Regions from separate parts of the Homo sapiens genome. Here region 2 is linked to region 1. The links are contacts of gene promoters, found by promoter capture Hi-C in human tissues and cell types (Jung and others, 2019). All regions are on one chromosome and are shown on one strand. The core of a region is centred on a gene start or on the middle of the fragment in contact, and the rest is flanking DNA. Distances in the headings are between cores, read along the strand shown. Region 1 holds the start of DGKI (diacylglycerol kinase iota). Region 2 overlaps DGKI (diacylglycerol kinase iota).

Region 1 (5,845 bases), core at 2,124-4,623:
TTTTATCAAGCTCGGCATTTAGGAGACTCAAGGTTGGTATTTAAGACTAGGATGACACCTGTTTTAGATTGAACAGTAATTAATAATAGAAAGGTGAGTTAGGAAGCTCACCAAATGGGGCATGGCTTTGGGCCCAGTCATGGAAATATTGTCCATCTGAGGTCTGAGATTATACTTCCAGGTCCAGACACTGGATGTTTCAATATACCCAGAGATGCTCATTTTCTTGGTTATGTACTTATGTTACTCAAAATCACATGCAATGCAGTTTCAAAGCAGAATGTCAATTTATTTTTGTGATTAGAATGCTTTTGACCCATTTTCAAGGATTCCACTTTTTAGTGTCAAGGAAACTAAGAAGCAGGATGAATAATTACAAGGTTACTTGGTGATCGTTGAAAAATAGAAAGGAAAATAAATTGTCTAAGAGAATGACTAATATTTTAAGTAACTTCTCAGGAGATCACCCCACAACAGAATTCATTTGTCTTTTGCTGGAATTATTTGTGCTTCCCAAATGTCGCTCTGTCTTAAGTTAGAGTTAATGTTCAATGACTGTTTTTTTAAAAACCCAATATTCCTCTGATTAGCAACCCATTAATACACTATTTAAACATATAAATACACACTTGAGAGGTCCAGCTGGCTTTTCTGATAGGCTGGGAGACATTCTGTTGGCATGTACTTATTGAATCAGGCAAAACCTCAAGACTCTAGCTAGAGCCATTCAACTCCGCTTCACTGTGACCATTTTCTTATGTATCCTTCCAGAAATATTATATCTCTATAGATCTTCTTTTCTCCATAAATGATAGCATACTACTAAATACTCTGAGCATTGTTTTTCTTTTTTTGTTAACATTATATATTTGAGATTGTTTTATATTAATGAATGTTAACTTGCCTTATGTATCTTGACAGTTCCAGAGAATTCCATTGTTTGGATGAATAACAATTTAGGTTGTTTTCAATCTTAAATCCTTGTGTATACCTACAAGTATATCAGAGGACGAATTTTTAGAAGTGAAATTGCTTAGTTAATTAGGTCATGCATTTCAAACATGGATAGATATTGTAAAATTTACCATCAGAGAGATTTTACTAGTTAAAGTATATCAAAAATTTGAGGAAGCATTTGTTTTCATACCCCCTCATCAATACCATCTATTATCAAACTGTTTGTTCTGAAAAATGACGTCTTTCATTATGTTCACAACGATGTATATTTCTTTTCTCAGTCAATAAACACTTCATGATGGTCTATGATATACACACTTATGCAATTATGTTACCTGTTTATTATTACTGAAGATATAGTGATAAACAACATATAGCGTTTATATACATGTGGGATAAATAGACACATGACAGTTGCAGTGGTCCAAGTTTAGTACAATGGTGCAATGGGAGCTATGGGAGGTACGTCCATCACAGTCTAGAAAGGGATCATCAACGGAGGCTTCTAGTGGGGAGAAACATGGGGAGAGACATGTAAACTAAAATCCGATGGAGGTGTAGAGTAGTTGGCTTGGCAAATCTTAGGAAAAGGAGAAGCAAAGAAGAGGAGACAGCAGACTCACACGTGCAAAAATGGGAATGGAGAGAGCAGAGAGCGTGTGGGGTTTGCACAAAGAACAGTTCAGAACCTCACTGTCATGACAGTATGAAGGGAAAGCGGGCAGTACTCCACCACCCACCAATGTAGCCCTCAAAATCAGCTGAGTTGTTTGAACTTTACCCTAACGGCAATATGACATAATCAAAAGATTTTTAAGTGGAGGCGTGAAAAATCAGAAGTATTTTGGGGCTCACACTTGAGATTGGATTGGGGAAGATACGGCTAAAAGTAAGTGGGAGTAATGAGGGGGCTGTCCCAGTAATTGGGTTCAGATGACATTTGCTTGATTTTAGGGATGTACGAGATATTCGTGGATCTTGTGTTGAAGCACCTAATACACGATGTCCCTTCTGAAGACGGGTGCATTAAACTGGGGTGAAGCACAAAGGCCACTGAGCAGCCTGGCTTGACTCCTGGCTTTGCCAGTTTGCATTTGCACGTGTCCAAGCCCTTGAGAGGTGCTGTGAAAACATAGAGGTGGATGAGGGAAGTGCTTATACAGCACATACCGTATAAAAAGAGGGCTTCATACTTGCTAGTTGTTTTAATTTTTATTATTACTTTTCCTCGCTGCACATGGAAATGTCTTTACCTTTGTCTTATTATAAGGTACATACGAGGAGAGTTACAGAACATGGGTGTTAGAAGAGATTTGACATATCTGTTCATTTTCCTAATTTTAGTGATGAGAAAATAAAGGGAAAGAAAGCAATTTAGATTTTTGCCAGTATTACAATTCTTTGTTCACGGGCACACCACGCCAGCCTGAAACTGTTCATTGGTCTGGTTCTCTTACCACCTCGTATATGTAGGTTTATAGTTTGGTTACGAACACCACCTTGTCTTAACCATAGATAGTTCCTGTGTTTGCCGACAGCAGCGATTTCTTGTGTGGAAACCCCTAATTTGGGAAACAATCTGTTTTAAACACTTTGTAGCACATCACTCAAACCGCACAGTTTTCGATAATCTTAGAAACAAAAACTGGGGTTGAGGCGGACAGTTAAATTCTGCAGACACCACAAGCTTGGATTCGTTTCAGCAGTCGGTCCTAAGTGGTTTGAAGCCCCTTCCGGGATGCCTCTTCTTATACGAACAACGCAGCGGCGCCAGGCGCCAGGGTCCTCACTTCTGCCTCCTGGATTTCCTCCGCCTTTCTGCTTCACCGAGGGCCCTGTGATCCGATTCCATCGAATTAACCGCTGTTTACCGAGGGTCTGCTGCGCCTAAGGAAGGCACCGGGCGACGAGCAAGGCGGGGACGCAGTTTGGGGACGCAGGGGTCCGGGCCCCAGTCCAGAGACAGGAGGTCGGCGCTTCGACTTGGCACCCGCCGACGAATTCACTCCAAGGTTCCCACTGGCGGAGCTCCTGCTACCTCCCCCCTCCCCTAAATGCAGCTCCCGCTACCTTCCCGCGCCCAGGGGCTGCTGCCTGAGCCCAGCTCTGCTCACTGGAGGGCGGCGGTGGAGAGGGTGCTGGCCCAGCGTCGGCAGCTGGGCTCAGGACCAAGGTGGGCGCCCGCCGGTCCTGGTCCCCCCAGCCTCACGGTGCAGGACCCAGGGCGCGGCCACTCGAGTTCCCCGGACGCTCTCCTTCCTGATGCTCGCTGTCCCTGCCCTGGCGTCCCCAGCCCGGGGTCGCAGCCTGTCCTCCTCTCTCTCCCCCTCCGCCGCAGCCCGTCGCCTCCGGGCAGAGTTCATGTTCAGCTTGGGCTTTCGCTCGGGATTTAGGAAGAGGCCGGCGGGGCTGGAGGGTGCGGGCCGGCGCGGGAGGGCGCGGGAGGCGGGGAGCGGCGGCCTCTGATTGGCCGGGGCGGGGGAGTGAGCGGAGTTTCCCACAATGCCCCGGTGCGGTGCAGCCGCGGATGGATGCTGCGGGAAGGGGCTGCCATTTGCTGCCCCTGCCAGCGGCGCGCGGACCTGCCCGCGCTCCTGCAGCCGCCGCCGCCGCCGCCGCCAGCCCGCCCGGCCCCTGCAGCGGCGCCGCCTGCGCTCCCTCCGCGGCCGCCGGAGCGGGCGCCATGAACCCCAGCTCCTCGGCGGGAGAGGAGAAAGGGGCGACGGGCGGCAGCAGCAGCAGCGGAAGCGGCGCCGGGAGCTGCTGCCTGGGCGCCGAGGGCGGCGCGGACCCGCGGGGCGCAGGGTCAGCCGCGGCGGCGGGGGCCGCTGCCCTGGACGAGCCCGCGGCCGCCGGCCAGAAGGAGAAGGACGAAGCGCTGGAGGAGAAGCTGAGGAACTTAACTTTCCGGAAGCAGGTCTCGTACAGGTAGGTGCGGGGAGCCGGCAGCCGAGACAGGTGCGCCGCGGCGGGAGACCCACTCTTCTACCCAGCAAGGGGCGCTTCCGCGGAGTTGGGCACCTCTCTGTTTCCACGCCTCTCCTTCCCCCTTTCCCCCTCTCCTCCCGGGGATGTCTGTCTTCTCCCCATCCTATCATTCCAGGCTGGAGGGCAGCAACGCCTGCTTTCCCCTGTGGCAGGAGAGAAGCACTGGGTCCCTAAGGTCAGAGCAACAGAAATTTTGTCTGTGTGTGTGTGTGTGTGTGTGTGTGTGTGTGTGTGTGTGTGAGAGAGAGAGAGAGAGAGAGAGAGAGAAAGAGAGAGAGAGAAAGGGTTGCAGACTCAGTGATGCTTAGTTTTCTTAAGAGAAGTCGTCAAAGTTGCCCCTAAGCAGGTGTCATCTTCAACCACCCTTCCCCCACCTTCCAGATTTCGCTGGATGAACCTTTGGCACTAACTTGACAGCTGAGATCACTCCGACAGGCAGAAAAGAATAGCACTACACTGAAGAGAAATCCTTATGGAAGTTGGACCTGCCTCGAAATCCCCCATGAAGGAAGAGTGGGTTTATGTCTGTAGATGCGCCACTGGTTATGGGGGCTCCATGCCTGCGTGCTCCTTGCCTCTCTCCTGGCTGGAGGAGGGTGTGGGGAGCCCGCTGGCAAGCTAGGGGTGAAGGTGAGAGTGGGGACCATATTTGCACCTAAGGATGAGTGTATGTGTAAGACAAGGACAGTGTGGGATCAATGGCCTTTAAATTAGGATAAAAGATAACCCCACATTGTATTAGAATCCAACAACGAGGAATTAGGATTTATTAAGGTCTCTCTCACCCCTCCCTTCCGCAGGCAAGAATAAAGACATTGACAGGTTTGGAGAGTTGTTGACACTAACCCTACTGCTTATCGATGTTAAAGGTCGAGGTGATATGCAAGCATAGGTTTACAAAGATGTACACTTGCTGGAGCTCAGAGGGTTTCTGGAAAAGGGGTCAGTGAAAACATTCTTGTAACCCTACTCTTTCTGAGTTAGTGTTCCCTTCCCAAAAACCATATAAAGTATTAAGCCTGTCACACCATGTGCTGTTATGTAAGCAAACGCAGATGACAGAGGTGTGTGGGTTTGGGAGGGTGTGTTTTATTTATGGGGGCAGGTGTGTGAATAATTGGGATCCCCATAGACATCGCCTGGCCTGGAGGCCACAGTCACTAGGGCATGTGCTCTGTGTCTAAGTGTTGACTTCTGATGACTCCTAAAACGCCTTCCTGGTGAGGTTGTTGCTTCTGCGTTCCTCCCATGCATTTTGTTCGCTGTGCGCTGAGGGAGTTCCCCACCTGAGTTGTTCTCTTAGTTACTCACACAGATCAGGTCCAAATGGATCTTTCTTTTTATACTTTGGTTTCTAAAAATAGACAGATGGTGGGGAGGGGGTAGCTCTAGGGAGGTATGCTAGGACACTGGCAGTTCTACTTCCTAGTTATGATGGCCCGTCTGGCCCCTGGGGGAACAGGGACTACATTCAGCCTAATTTAGGAGCTGTGAGTTGGAAGGGGGTGGTGATTACATGAAGCACAGTGTAGGCTGCTCCTGGCTTATTGGTATTCATCAGAGTCCTCACTGGGTAGGAAGACAAAGCCAGAGTTTGCAAGGGAAATCATTTCAGCTTGCCTCTTGTCAGGGGTCATTCTCTGAGCCTCCTTTTTTAAAATGTATGTTGTGTGGGGTTTTGGCTTTCTGAGTTGCATGCTCACACATGCACGTGTAAGTGTGTACACACACAAGCATAGACATGGACACAGACGCAGCATGTTTCTATAGAAGAATAATAACATTGCGTCTGCTTTACAATCCTTACATAGAGGTGGATTCTACTTCGTGAACATCATTTCCTTTTAAATAAAGCTTTACAGTCTCCAATTCCTGCATCAGTGTCACCTCAGGTGTCTGG
Region 2 (5,797 bases), core at 3,195-5,694, 45 kb after region 1:
GATCGAGACCATCCTGGCTAACACGGTGAAACCCCATCTCTATTAAAAATACAAAAAATTAGCCGGGCGTGTTGGCAGGTGCCTGTACTCCCAGGTACTCAGGAGGATGAGGCAGGAGAATGGCGTGAACCCAGGAGGCGGAGCTTGCAGTGAGCCAAGATCGCACCACTGCACTTCAGCCTGGGTGACAGAGCAAGACTCTGTCTCAGAAAAAAAAAAGAAGCAAAGGTTCAGTTTCTGATATTTTGTTTCCAATCATGTGGCATTGACACTGGAATCAGCTAGACCTGCATTCAAATCCTGACTCCATCACTTAAGCTGTTGTGTAACTTTGGGCTGGTTACCTCACTAACCTCTCTCAGACCTCTCTCAGTTTCTTCATTTGCAAAGTGGGGAATAACAACACCTGATTTAGATGCAACGCAAGTTGCAAGTCATTCAGCATTTACTCATGATCAGTGAGAGTCACTGATATCTCCGTTTTTCTCGTTTCCCCTGCCTTCTAAAGCCATCAGGTGGGGACCTTCATCTACCAAACAGACGCTAAAGAAGGATGGGCACGGTGAGTGGAAAAAGGAGGTTGAAGAGTTGTTTTTGCTCCCAAGTGTTTCATAATGAATGAGGTTAAGAAGAGAAAATAAAATACCCTGTCCCCTTGCTCTTATCTGGCTCAAATACAGCCTGTATTATTTAGCGTCAAAGAAATTATCTTCTCATGCTTTGTTCAGACCACTCCAACTCATGGCCACAGTTCTGACACTGGCTTAGCCTTGGCTGACCTGTATGAAGTCAAATAAGTTCCTTCACCTTTCTTAACCTCAGTTTCTTTATCTTGAAAATGAGAGCATGAACCTTTGTGATCTCTAAGGTATTTCCAATTATTCAGTTCTAAGAGATTATGCCCATCTGAGAACAAGTGGAATTAATGTTATGAAGGGTGCCTTCAAAGGAGAAATGCTTGAGATGGGAGCAAGAATAGATGCAAATCATGCCTGTTTTTGAGCTCGGGAAAGCTTTCATATGGCAGGGTTTTATATTCATCTGCCTGGTTGCATGCTTATGCACTGCCCTTGTTTGGCCTTGAAGAACATGGTTTTTTCCATTGTTTCTGGTGGAGATAATCACAATGACTATGTCACGTCTGCTTGGGAAACCAACCACGGCTGCTGATCTTTGGATCCTTGTCTGGGAAGCTCTCAAGCCAGTAGTAGTTTGCCTCAACCATTCAGGGGTAGCTCCTCTCTGGCCAGGACCTTGTTATGCCTTCCCTGCAGACAGCGTAAGGGATGGTAGGCATTCTTTCTCCATTCGCTCCCTCGCCAGAATCAGCACTGGTGATTGTCAGGCAGGTAAGGAGAACACTGTCATGCTCAATGGAGATGTCAGACTAATGTGAGTCAGCTCTAGCTTCCCTCAAGCACAGCTGGAAGACAAAGAAACAGATTTACTGGAGATGTGCACAAACTAGTGCCTATTATGTTAAAAAACATAAATAAAACGAGGGAGAAGGCATACAGAGAGAAATTATCTTTTAAAAACATCTTGGCAAAATAGCACTCAATACACATCAGTACAATAGTGGAGTCATCCATGTGTGTCAACCTGTAGTTCTTAATGACAGGGATGTATAAACAAGTAGGTAATAAGCAGCCCAGCTGCTTCTGGGGTTTCTCTTAACTTACTTTCTTTGAAAATGAGTTGGTGGAAATACAGCTGAAAACACAGACTCAGAAAATGAATGAGTCATTTGAGTTGAACATAAAAAAGGAGACCTGGATGAGGATTTAGAGAGAAGATCCATTCAACTCCGTAAGCCTACAAAGTAAGATTAGACTAAATAGATAGAAATTTTATTCTACTCCCAAAGGATAAACATCATTTTCCATTTCTTTTTGTAGACAGGCAAAGCTCTGCCGTGAATCATGGTTTTAATGCAGACTTCTTTACAGAAAAAGAAATATATCCATTTCCTTTCCTTTCCTGTGCCCATCCAAGCTTGTTATCGAGAGGAGTGCCTCTGTACCCTCTGTCAGCTAGAATCAATGTTAAACACTGAGCACACAAACACCAAAAACGTTTACATCTTTTTATTTTTCTTCAAAGACTTCAAAACTGCCTTGCCTTTGTTCTTACAGATAATTTTTAATAGCTGGTCTAGTTGTATTTATGTTAAATGGGGGCACAGGGGTCAAAGAGACTTATTAAAAGGACGGAATGAGTGAAGGACTTCTCTTCTGACGAATGAACAGGGCATCGAGCCAATAATTAAATCTTATTGAAGCAGAGAAAACTAGCCTATATTTATATGCCTAGAATGTTCTGAGTGCTTTCTTGTAGGATCTCTTTTCAATAATTGTAAAGTGGTAATTTTCTTCATTTTCCTGAAGAGAAAACTGATGCTCAGAGAGGCTAAATAACTGCACAAGCTCACATATCCAGTAGAGAGGGGGAAGAGATGGAAGTCCAAAGTCAATGCCACACTGCTTCCTATTTAACAATATCAAACTCAGGCATCAAGCTCCTGCTCTATGCCAGGCATTTGCTGGGTACTGGAGATGTGAAGAGAGAATGGTCTAAGCGCTTACTGTTGAGTGCTTCCCAAAGCATGTGCTCAGTGTTTGCTGGTTGTCACTTACTCTCACAAAGGAGCTCCCTCAGTCTAGCCTCAGAGAAGATAATTGTGCAAAGTGGGCATGCTTGTTAGCTTATATTTTCAGAAAATGAAAAACGCATGCCCGGACTATTTACCTCACGAATCTAAGATGATATAGTGAGCGGGTGTTAGGGATGGGACCTGGGCCAAATCCAAATAGGTTATGCATTTAGCCTTCAAATCCTTGCTGTGTTCCAATGTCCGTTTAAAGCTTGTTAAATTCTCCAGGATATTTGATACACACTTACTTAATATGTTTCATTTGCAGAAATGGTTGTATTTTAATTGAAGCTCCTGGAAGTGAAACTGCGCTTTTGTAAGAAATTCTTAAGTAAGTGGAGGAAAACATTGTGCTCAGGAAAAGTTTTCCAGAGACTTCAAAATGACATGAAATGTTAAGGCCGTGTCCAGTCAAGATGCCTGTATATAAATGTGAAAGGTGCATTGTCTTAGTAGACATCATAAAGAAAAATAGCATCAAAAAGAAAGAAAATATCATACAGCTAAACAGGTGATCTAAATAATATACATAACTTAGAAAATGTGAAATCAGTGGATAGGATTCATATGAGGATCTTTTTAACATGTTTCCTATATCAGAATCAAAAATACAGTTCCAGTCACATTACTTTCTTGTTTGAAAACATTTTTTGGCTCTTTGTTACTGACCTGTAATTTGTCTAAACTGTATACTGGAATGTAAGGCCTCTGAAGAGTGATCACAGCCCCCTTTTTCAAACTTACCTCCATCTTCTCTACAACCCAGCAAAACTGGTCTCCTCACTGTGTCCTGAATTTCCTTGTTTTGTCTCACCTGCGTTTTCTCTCAGCTTGCACCCCTCCATCCCTTCTCTCCAAATGTAGAAACCTTTAATCGCTCACTTGCTTCTCCAGGATGCATTTATGGATCTTTCCTTAATGCAAGCGACCTGCCCTGGCCTTTCCTCTGGATTCCCTTTTGTAGTGTTAATATTTGCATAGTGATTCTTATTTTGCTTTGCTTTGTATTCATTATTTTTAGTGCTTGTCTTATTTTACCTCCTAAACTATAATTTTCTTGAGAGTTTTTCTCATCTAATTTTTTTGTCTTTGTAGCATTTGGCATAGTGCTTCATGAATTGTATTAATGAACATCAGTAGGTATTAGTTAAATAAAATTCAATTAAATAAAGGCCAGAGTAAGATGTGCAGTTGGAACAGCCAGGTGTTAGATTTTCTCTGACTCAGAGATGAACAGCTTCCCAGCAAGGGAAGAAGTTCGAGGAGAGAGGCCGGTAGGAGAGGAAGCCACTTCTATAATTTGGCACTAATAAGAAATTTACTCTGGAAAATCTCAGTTTTTCACAAACCATCTTTCACTTTTCTCATGATGGAGAATATCCCTTTATTAGTCAGGACCTTCTGCAAATTAATGGGCAAGTCTCATGTCCTCATAAAGCCATAACCCTATTTATGACATTACAATTGGTTACTTAGTGATAATTATAATGTCACAAATAGAGGATTATTATGATTTGAGGTGCAAAACAGCTGTAACAAAGAAAGTCAGCAATAAGTGGACATGATGTAGTAAATTTGCAGCTGGAAAAGAATAATTCCCAGAAAGATATTAAAAATCATTTTAATAGTTTTTGGGGAACAGGTGGTTTTAGGTTACATGGATACATTCTTGAGTAGCGATTTCTGAGATTTTGGTGCACCTGTCACCCAAGCAGTGTACACTGTACACAATGTGTAGTCTTTTATCCCTCATCCACCTCCCACCCTTCCCTCTGAGTCCCCAAAGTTCATATATTATCCTTATGTCTTTGCCTCCTCATAGCTTAGCTTCCACTTAGAGAACATACAGTATTTGGTTTTCCAATCCTGAGTTACTTCACATAGAATAATGGCCTCCAGCTCCATCCGGGTTGCTGCAAATGCCATTGTTTCATTCCTTTTTGTGGCTGAGTAGTATTCCATGCTGTAATTATACCACATTTTCTTTATCCACTCATTGGTTGATGGGCATTTAGGCCCATTTTATATTTTTGCAATTGCCAATTGTGCTGCTATGAACACGTGTGTGCTCGTGTCTTCCAAAAATGCATTTTTTTGCATAAAGTTTTCCACTGAGTGATGGGGCAGGGGGGCACATGCTAAAGTTGAAGCTTTTGCCAAGGAGAGAGAGCTGAGGGCTGCAATTCTTTTGGAGGATGCTTTTCCCAGCCACAAACCCATATTGATTTCTTCCAGAACATTTACTAATCCTCTCTCCCCAGCTCTCACCCCCAGTGGGTGCAAGCCTGTGCATATAAACACACTCCCTTGTTTCCCATTCAGGATATGGAATCTTATACATCATAAAAGAGACTGATCTCCATCCTGATTCATAGGACTGTCAGCAGATGGCAGAGAGAGTGATAATGCCACTTACTATCAGGTCACTCCGAATTATTATTTATTCTGTGGAGAGTGAGACTGAGGACTGAAACCTGATGTTTAATTTTTCAAAATCACATGGTTAGAAACTGGAGGGTCCCAAGCTTTCTGGTCCTACATCTAATGAACTAATGCTTTTGTTGTTTATTTTTGCACTATACTTTATAGCTATGTAATGATGTAAAGGACACAGTTGTTTTATGAAATCCATTTCCCCTTGCTCCTTCCTTTTGAAACCTTGATCTTTTTTTTCTCTTTCTAGTAGCTAATGAGATTCAGGAAAGCCGATCCCATTTCCAACTCCAGGGAGCAAGAAAGTATAATATTTGACCTTCCAGCCTCTTAGCATCAGCTGGTACTTCCTTCTTTTCTCTTCCTGAGCCATGAGTCATGCTTCATCAAAAGTTTCCCAGGCTCCTGAAGTGAAAATGACAAATCAGTGCATAAGAGTGATAGGAAGAGAAGTACAAGATTGTATTAGACAGTATAGAACAAAACACTTTGCAGAATGAAAAATTGCAGAGTGCTGACACTTGTTCTACAGAAAGGGCATCAGCACTTAGATCACTGTTGAACAACATTCATTTTGGGATGAATATTGTCTAAGGTGAGGCTGAAATTCTTTGCTTCAAATTCTACAAAATTCTTATTCTACAGAATGGTGGATTATTTAGCTACCAAACTTTACTGAGTATATAGTTATTGAGGATCAACTGGGAGATG

The links. The method cuts DNA at HindIII sites, captures the fragments that hold promoters and counts their contacts. A contact is called where the count stands out against the background at its distance.
Region 2: a fragment that was not itself captured here is called in contact with the fragment with the promoter of DGKI in region 1 in 1 of the 25 tissues and cell types used here (stomach).

The regions. Positions count from the first base shown.
Region 1 is chr7:137,844,502-137,850,346 of GRCh38, reverse strand. It overlaps DGKI (diacylglycerol kinase iota), which reads left to right and starts at 3,373. Exons shown (of 33, transcript NM_001321708.2): 1 at 3,373-3,885. The coding sequence starts at 3,485. RefSeq lists silencers at 2,570-2,864, 3,349-3,398 and an enhancer at 4,033-4,534. The HindIII fragment of the contact is 10,065 bases long and covers 1-5,845 here.
Region 2 is chr7:137,800,862-137,806,658 of GRCh38, reverse strand. All of the region lies in intron 1 of DGKI (diacylglycerol kinase iota), which reads left to right. Among named protein-coding and RNA genes, the nearest start is that of DGKI, 43 kb to the left of the region's middle. The HindIII fragment of the contact is 4,028 bases long and covers 2,431-5,797 here.